Regions from separate parts of the Homo sapiens genome. Here all the other regions are linked to region 2. Evidence: promoter capture Hi-C in 16 types of primary human blood cells and fetal thymus (Javierre and others, 2016). All regions are on one chromosome and are shown on one strand. Each heading gives the region's core, a stretch centred on a gene start or on the middle of the fragment in contact. The rest is flanking DNA. Distances are from core to core; before and after follow the strand shown.

Region 1 (2,700 bases), core at 81-2,580, 4.8 Mb after region 2:
AAACAATTATAGCTCACTTACTTGGCTTATCAACAAACTATGTTTGCATAGTTAAAACAGGGTAAATATTAATTATTGATTCATCAAAAATATGCAATAGTTTTATTGGTTAGTCAGTTGGAAAGGAGGATCAAATCCTCATTAATAAATCCCATACATGATTGATAAATTAAAGATATTAGTAAAAGCTTATTATTTAGAAATGTGGACGTAAATACCAAAAAAAAAAAAAAAAAAACCTAATAGTTGAAAGCAAGGAGGGATAAAGCAGGAACTGTTTTTTTGGTTACAAACTTTTGATCATTATTTAATTTTTTAATGCATTTGTTGCTTTGTTAAAAATATAAAAATTAATTTCAAAAAAGTCATGCTGGCTAATACTGTAGAAACCAATTGGAGGGGACTCCAAGTAGAGACAAAGAGAGTAGGAAGTTGAGGCTACATAAGCAAAGAGGATGGAGGATTTAAGTAAGGTAGTGGTAAAGGGAATGGGAAGGTGGGAATGGAGTGGAATATTTGCAGTAGAAATGATGGGACCTGGTGGCTGGAGGAAGGAGAAGGAACAAGAAGAGGGAGAAGTCTAGAATGATAGGTTCCTAATTTGAGGAACTGAGTACTCTCTGAGAAAGAGAACGGAAGGAAGAGCAGCCTTGTGGGTGATGACAGCAATTTAAGTTATGGACAAAGCTGAGGTGGCTAGATATCCAAGTGGCAATGCTAGATGGACATGGATCTTGAGTTCAGGAGAACGCTGGGCTGAAATAAGAGAATAAATTAGATCTAGCAAAGAAACCCAGCCAAGTCCCAAGGAAAGCTAACCCAAATGTCCCCTTAAGCCCCACAAGTGTATGAATCCTGGGTAGACTGCCAGGTGAGAGTAGAAGTTCAGCTGTTTATCCTCGGTGTGCTCTATTAACAACTCTCACCTGCCAAGTGCCACAGCCCCTCAGCCCTTGCCCTTTGTTTCTCTGGAAGCCCTCATGTTAGGAAATGTCTTCCAAAACGTTCATGCTACTGTTCCCATTTCTCCCATACTTCTGATTCACTTGCTTCTCACCTTCCCCATCTACTGTCGTACACTGCTTCTCATTCATCAGTTTGATGCCAACCAAGATGGTCCACTGGAATACACAGCCAATTGGCACGAATCCATGCTTGACCTGATATCCCTTGGGAAGCTGAGTCTCTGCTACCAGCATCTGGAGCTGTTACTTGTGATTTTGGAATCCTTGTCACTAAGGCTGACTGCACCACAGCACTGCTCAGGCCACCCATAATGGTGGAACTGACACCAATGAGAAATCAAGATGAGGGTCTGAAGGTCATAGTACTGTAGAGGAACCCTGAAATGCCCAATTCCTGTCCTACCACACATCACATCTCTACTCACAGGGTCCCAACAGCTATGAACAGGAAAACACTACCTAAATGAGAAACAAATGCCACTTTATTCATAACTGAGGCAGTACTCTATAATCCATAGGCAGGGATCTGATAAAAACTGAACTGAGTCTCTCGCAAGGGTGGAAGCCAAAGACCAGGTTGAGGAGAGGCTGGTCAGACTTTGGCACTGCACATGGGAGGTAGTATCTTCTTGGGATATTTGTATTACTCCAGAAAGGTGAGAAAAGCAGCTGGTGTGCAATAAGAAAAGCAAGGCCAAGAGCCCAGGCAGGCTCAACAAGTGGCTGCCTGCATTCTGGTCCCAGTGTCAGGCCTTCTGAAGACAACATACTGCTTTTTTTTTTTTTTTTTGAGATGGAATCTCGCTGTCAACAGGCTGGAGTGCAGTGGTGCGATCTCAGCTCACTGCAACCTCCGCCTCCCAGATTCAAGCGATTCTCCTGCCTCAGCCTCCCAAGTAGCTGGGACTACAGGTGCGCGGTGCCATGCCCAGCTAATTTTTGTATTTTTAATAGAGACAGGGTTTCACCATGCTGGCCAAGACGGTCTCGATCTCTTGACCTTGTGATCCGCCCCTCGGCCTCCCAAAGTGCAGGGAGTACAGGCGTGAGCCACCGCTCCTGGCCCATACTCTCTGCTTTAATTCTGAGCTACCAATACACGTTTTTTATAAACACCCACTTTTGATTTAAGCTCACTTGTGTTTGTTGCCTGCAACCAAGAGACCACTGAGGAAACTGGTTCAGCATCAATCATGTCGTCCTGACTGCATTCCCAGCATTAGAATAGCACTGGCCACAGTTGGTGGGTAATCCACACTTGCTGAAGGAATGAGGGGTATGTGCACTGGTCCTAAAGAATAGGTCCAGTCTGTTTAATTCAGAAGTTACAATCAAATTTATATCATACTTACCCAGTACGCAGTAGTACCCAAAGGGCTACTGTGAATCCCAAAGTGAATATGGAGATTTGCTGAAACTAACCTTAAAGCGACCACTAAAGCTGTGCCTAATAGCAACATGAAAGAAATATAAATCTACATTAACTAGTTTCAGGAAATCAAGCTTATGGAAGCTCTATGTGAAATTTCACAGCAATCTTTCACTCATGCAAATACAGAGGAACACCTCTTGAAAATGCAGATAGTAGGCCGGGGACCGTGGCTCACACCTGTAATCCCAGCACTTTGGGAGGCTGAGGCAGGCGGATCACAAGGTCAGGAGATGGAGACCATCCTGGCTAACACGGTGAAACCCTGTCTCCACTGAAAACACAAAAAATTAGCCAGACATGGTG
Region 2 (2,700 bases), core at 126-2,625:
TACCTTCATCATCTGTAGGTAACTTATAATACCTAATACAATGTAGATGGGATGTAAATAGTTGTTATACTGTATAGTTTAGGAAATAATGACAAGAAAAAAAAAGCCTCTACATGTTCAGTACAAACGCATTTTTCTTTTTCTGAAGAATATTTTTGATTTGAGGTTGGTTGAATCCACCCCACGCGGAACCCACGACTAAGAAGCGCTGTGTTTGCTAAGGGCTTCACACAAATTACCTCATTTAAATGTTACCACAAATGGATGAAAAAGGTATTACTATAACAATTTTACAAATGAGAAAAGGGAAACCTAGGGCTGGATCAAAGTAACGACGGTTAAGTACACTCCTGATCTATCGTTTACAAGACTAGACTGAGGGCTGAAATTTTGTCAATACAACGCTGTCCTTGTACTCGCGTAAGCAAGTCTCCATGAGCACAACTCCAGGACTGCTAGAGTGGGAATTTTCTCCCAGGGACCCCATTTCTCTTTGGCTGGAATTCCCGATCTCCACCTCACTCCTCCTCCCTCCATGGCACCAGTCCCCCCATCATCTCAGAAATGCCCCTCTTCTCCGCCCCTGGCTGTCTTTCCAAACACAATCTAACAACTGGCCACGCCCCCACACACCATAGAAGGACCATCTCCACTTACGGTTTTCAGCTACCTATGAGGTCGTCAGTCCCGCTGTCTGTGTCAAATCAGAAAAAGAACCTGACCGTGAGGACTAGAGTAAGAGGCTGTGAAGACTGCCGCCTCCTCGCACGACCCACACCGTCGAGTGTCCGGAGATGGACGGGAAAAGCTACCACAGTGGCATGGCCTTATTTCCTGTGAGTCGCCTTTAATTCAAACCTAGACAGACGCACGCCCTGCCCGGCCCTCCTCAGACCCGAGAGCTGCGCTGTGAGGGGACGCGCCTCCCCTCGTTGATGAGAATTCGCTGCCACGCTTTTTGCACAGGCGAGAGCCTCACCGCGGCGGCAACTCTACCACGTGGACAAAGGCACAGCCGTGTCTCATTCTCGACAATGGAGGAGGGCGTGGGGTATGCACTAGGGGCTGTCTCGGGGGTCAGACCGCCGGGGGACGGCAACGTACCTGCGCGGCGACGTCCAGGGTCAGCGCGGGCCGCGGCCCCCACGGTCGGGACGCCCCCCGCGTGGGACGCAGTTCCACTGAGGGGCCGGCCGCGGAGGTCACAAGGTGGGCCCACCGAAGCCTCTGGTAGGGGCACGGGAAGAGCCGCCTTTCTCTCCTCCTCCTCCTTCTTGGAGGCTTACTCTGGGTCACCGGGGCCCCAGAGCCGGGGGACTTTCCGGCGCAGTTCCGCGGCTTCCCGCGCGCGGCCAGCCGGTCTCCACGCAGACGCGAGCGCCCCGGCGCCGCCCTCTCCCGCATTCCCGTGACGGGCAGCGAAGTCAGCCAGTGGGACTGCGGGCCGGAAGGCTAACTCCGCCCATGTGTGGCTTATAAGAGGCGGTAGCTTCCGGGAGTGTCACTTTCCCAGAAATCCCGGCAAATCCGCCCTAGAGTTTTCGTTGGTCCAACCGGGCCACAGACTCCGGCCCGTCTGGTTAGGTGGGATGCCTGATTGGGCCAAACCTCTTAGGTCCCGCACCTAGAGCGGGGAGTAGCGTCTGCTTTTTTTTCCGCTGAGCGGAGGCCGCTAGGCTGGAGAGGGAGGGGAAGGTGTGTGGGGTCGGGTGAGATGCTTTCCCCTCGTCCCGCATGCGCCTGTATTGGAGTGATTTCAGTTAAAAGTCTCGTGAAACGTCACCAGTGATGTAGTCACGGCCAGCAGCAGCTGCCTGACCCCGCCGAGGCCTTCCGTCTGGCAACATGTGGGGCGCCGCAATGCTTGAGGCCACGGCGAGGGCAACGCCGGCCGCGCCCCGTGGAAACCGCGTGGCGGAGTGCTTGAGCCGATCGCGCTCTTTAGGAGTTAGGCCACTTAGAGGCGACATCTTGGTGGACACGGAGGAAGCCAGTTTTAGTCAGATGGGAAAAGTAGCTAAAAGTGGGAGGAGACTGGGGCGAGGGTGGGACGTGGGGGAGGCGGGGGCGTGACGGCGGCTCTCCACTGCCCTGAGGCTTGAGGGGCCCCGGGAAACCCGGGCCCGGCTGGGGTTGGGACTCTGTTCTTCCGCGTTCATAGCTACGATTCAGCTGTTCTGGAATGAGAACTGGATTTTTACTGAACTTTACGAACAGGCTCAACAGGATGTAACCATTCAGTGTGGAGGCATGAGAAACTATAGCTTGTAAATTAAAAGAAAAACCTCATTTCTTTAGACAACATTTTCAGCTCCATCTGCTGGTCTGAGGCTGAATAATTAATTGAAAAGCCAGGAGAGAAATGGGGCTAGATGAAGTGAGGTAGTTTAACCTGTGCTTTCTTGGCGTCCCGTCGGCTCCCTTTGCTTGCATTCCTAAGAGAATCTTGGTCTCAGATTTCAGGACAAGTGGAAAACAGTTGGGCTATTTAGTATAGGCCACCCCTTCCCCCCCGCACCCTCTCCCCCCACACACTTCAGTTAAGTAGGTGGAAAGTTTGGATTATTAAAAAGACACGTTGGAGGCTGAGCAGAGAGTGTGAAAGAGCATTTTCGGGGCTTTGTGAACTAACATGGCCTTTTGAACCCCAAGGCAGTGATACTTGGATTGATCTAAATCAGCGTGGATGGAATGGAAGTG
Region 3 (2,700 bases), core at 65-2,564, 4.8 Mb after region 2:
AGAATTCCAATGTTTGCTCCAACTGAAACTCTAAGAAATCTGTTTATTTCTGGCAACGGCAAGAACCTGAAGCACTGTGTGCACAGGAAGCACTCTGGAGCTTCATGGGAAGCAAAGGGATAACTAAAGTCGGAATGAAAGCAAGTTCTATCACAACTCTCAGCAAGTATGTCAGCAGATTTCATTAAATAACCGTCTCTCTCTCAAAACGTTCTTTATTAAAAGGCACTGGCGGCCGGGCGCGGTGGCTCACGCCTGTAATCCCAGCACTTTGGGCGACCGAGGCCGGTGGATGACCTGAGGTCAGGAATTCAAGACCAGCCTGGCCAACATGGCAAAACCCCGTCTCTACTAAAAATACAAAAATTAGCTGGGCGTGGTGGCAGGTGCCTGTAATCCCAGCTACTCGGGAGGCTGCGGCAGGGAGGACTGCTTGACCTTGGGAGGCATTGGTTGCAGTGAGCCGAGATCACGCCACTGCACTCCAGCCTGGGCGACAGAGCGAGACTCCATCTCAAAAAAAAAAAAAAAAAAAAAGAAGCTACTGCCTCCATCTAATGGTTTCCAAGCATGTACAGCCTAAGACCTGCTCCCTCCTTTTCCTACTGCCTGTTTCCCTCACCCTTCTAGGGTCTGGATTCTTAGCAGTGGACACATAATCCAAGGGGACTATAGAAGGTCCACTAATCATCTGAAGTTATGCGCATGAGGGAATATGCCGTTTTTCTAGGGAGATGGGTCCATAGCTTTTACCAAAGTATCGGGGAAGGTATCTGAAGAGGTAAATAACTGAAAGTATGAATTAGTGAATGAATGAAAGGCCTGGAAAGATAACAGGAGAATATGCCAAAAAATCTGAACCACCCTTATCGCGCCAACTCGTAACTTCTCAGGACACAGTGACCATGTGTATGTAAGAATAAGTGAGGTTTAATCCTTGAAGGGAGTCCAAGGACCTGGGTTCCAGTTCCAGCTGTCATGAAGCAAAAGTCGTTTCACTTGTCTGAGTCTTGAGTTTCTCAACTATAAAACGGGACTTGGGTCCTTCCAGGTGTGCGCACTCCGCAATTCTGGGGAAACTGGAGCCAGAAATCGGTCCCGGCCTGGTGCGGGACGACATCCGCAGGGGACTCCCGGATCATCCATTCCCCCGCTACCCTAAACTGTCAAGAAAAGGCCTCCTCCCAGAAGCCGCTCACCTCGCCCCCGGCAGAAACTCATACCCGTGCCCTCGGCCCTCCGTCACCTATGCGCCCCGCTCACCTGGCCGGAGCCGCTCACCTAGCTAGAGCCGTCCTCACCCACAGCTGCAACAAGCAGGCTCCGGCTCCCACCGCCAAGTCCAGCTCAGCTCTCAACCGATTGGCCAGCGCCCCAGCGCGTCATGCCACGGCGCTGTCCACTGGCCAATCAAAGAGCGCTTCTCCGACGGACTGGAGGAAGCGAGAGACTCAGAGAAGCTCTGCCACCATCTTGGAACAGGGCAAGACAGGTGTATGTCGCACTTCAAAACGAGAGTTCCTCGGAACACGTTTCCCCACCCCTAAACGTTTCTGTTTCAGAAAACCCCGGCGCCTGCCGCACCGTTGCCTAAGCGCAGCCAGCGCTCCTCAGAGGTTCGCCCTGATACAATATGACATCCGCTCGTCTCAGTGGGAAGTCCCGCTGATCGCCTTAGCTACCGGAAAGCGAGAACGATGACGTATGCTCGCGGAACAGGGAGCTGCACTGGTTGGAAGAAACTAAGGCTGCCGGAAGAAGGCATTAGCATGCGGAAGGGGCGGGGCGGGTGGTGAGCGCGGCGGCGCTTACGCACTTGCTGGTTTGGGAGTCGGTCTCTGTGGTTAAGTTTGAAGTACAGAGGTGTGGTGGTGCTTCACGTTACAAGCTCTCCTACCGTCGCTTGCTGTAATGTCTTGGCGCTCTCAGCGGAGGCTGGCACTAGCGCACAGTCCCTGTCATCCTTCTACATGGAGATAAATAATTGAGAACTGTAATATTCAACCATTTTAGGAGAGTAAGCTTAGAAATACATGGAACATAACTTTCTTTTAAAAAATAATTCCAACGTTTAGATTTAGGGGGTACACTGCGTATTTGTTACCTGGCTATGAGGTTTCGAATTCGAATGAGCTGGTCACCCAGATACTGAGCATAGTACCCAAGTTTTTCAGCCCCTCCCTGCCTCCCTCCCCACTCTAGTAGTCCCCAGCGTCTATTAATGTCACCTTTGTGTCCATGTGTGCCCAATGCTTAGCTCCCACTTTCAAGTGAGAACATGTATTTGGTTTTCTGCTTCTGCGTTAATTCTTTTAGGATCATGGCCTCCAGATGCATCCATGTTGCTGCAAAAGGCGCGATAGAACACAACTGTATAAAGCCACCACAACCATTTTTACACACGCTGACAAGTGGCAAACATGAACACATCATTACTGTGACTCAGAGTTGTAGTCTCTGTAGCATATAAAAATAAGCAAAACGATGTAAACATAAAATTATGCAAGAACATATCTAGGCATCCAAGAAGTATCCATTAATTAGCTCAATTTAATACTAAGTTTTAAGTTATCTACAGATCATAGAAATTATTAATAGTTTAAGGCACAAAGAAACAATTACTGTTAAATGTGAGAATGATTCAGTTTTGTTGAACAAATTCACATTTTTCAGGATCTTAAACAATGTAATGTTAATATT

The links. The method cuts DNA at HindIII sites, captures the fragments that hold promoters and counts their contacts. A CHiCAGO score of 5 or more calls a contact.
Region 1: a contact is called between a fragment that was not itself captured here and the fragment with the promoter of NXT1 in region 2, in 1 of 17 cell types (total CD4 T cells). The highest score is 6.1, in total CD4 T cells.
Region 3: a contact is called between the fragment with the promoter of SEC23B here and the fragment with the promoter of NXT1 in region 2, in 1 of 17 cell types (total CD4 T cells). The highest score is 5.8, in total CD4 T cells.

The regions. Positions count from the first base shown.
Region 1 is chr20:18,569,726-18,572,425 of GRCh38, reverse strand. No RefSeq gene overlaps it. Among named protein-coding and RNA genes, the nearest start is that of SMIM26, 3.6 kb to the right of the region's middle. The HindIII fragment of the contact is 2,280 bases long and covers 191-2,470 here.
Region 2 is chr20:23,349,466-23,352,165 of GRCh38, reverse strand. It overlaps NXT1 (nuclear transport factor 2 like export factor 1), which reads right to left and starts at 1,375. Exons shown (of 2, transcript NM_013248.3): 1 at 1,105-1,375. It overlaps NXT1-AS1 (NXT1 antisense RNA 1), which reads left to right and starts at 699. Exons shown (of 3, transcript XR_937384.2): 1 at 699-836. RefSeq lists enhancers at 524-573, 630-1,501, 1,440-1,734, 1,654-1,793, 1,502-2,374 and silencers at 1,064-1,333, 1,954-2,083. The HindIII fragment of the contact is 12,471 bases long and covers 1-2,700 here.
Region 3 is chr20:18,506,554-18,509,253 of GRCh38, reverse strand. SEC23B (SEC23 homolog B, COPII component) reads right to left here and starts at 1,314. Exons shown (of 20, transcript NM_006363.6): 1 at 1,282-1,314. RefSeq lists enhancers at 1,044-1,093, 1,444-1,773. The HindIII fragment of the contact is 4,172 bases long and covers 1-2,024 here.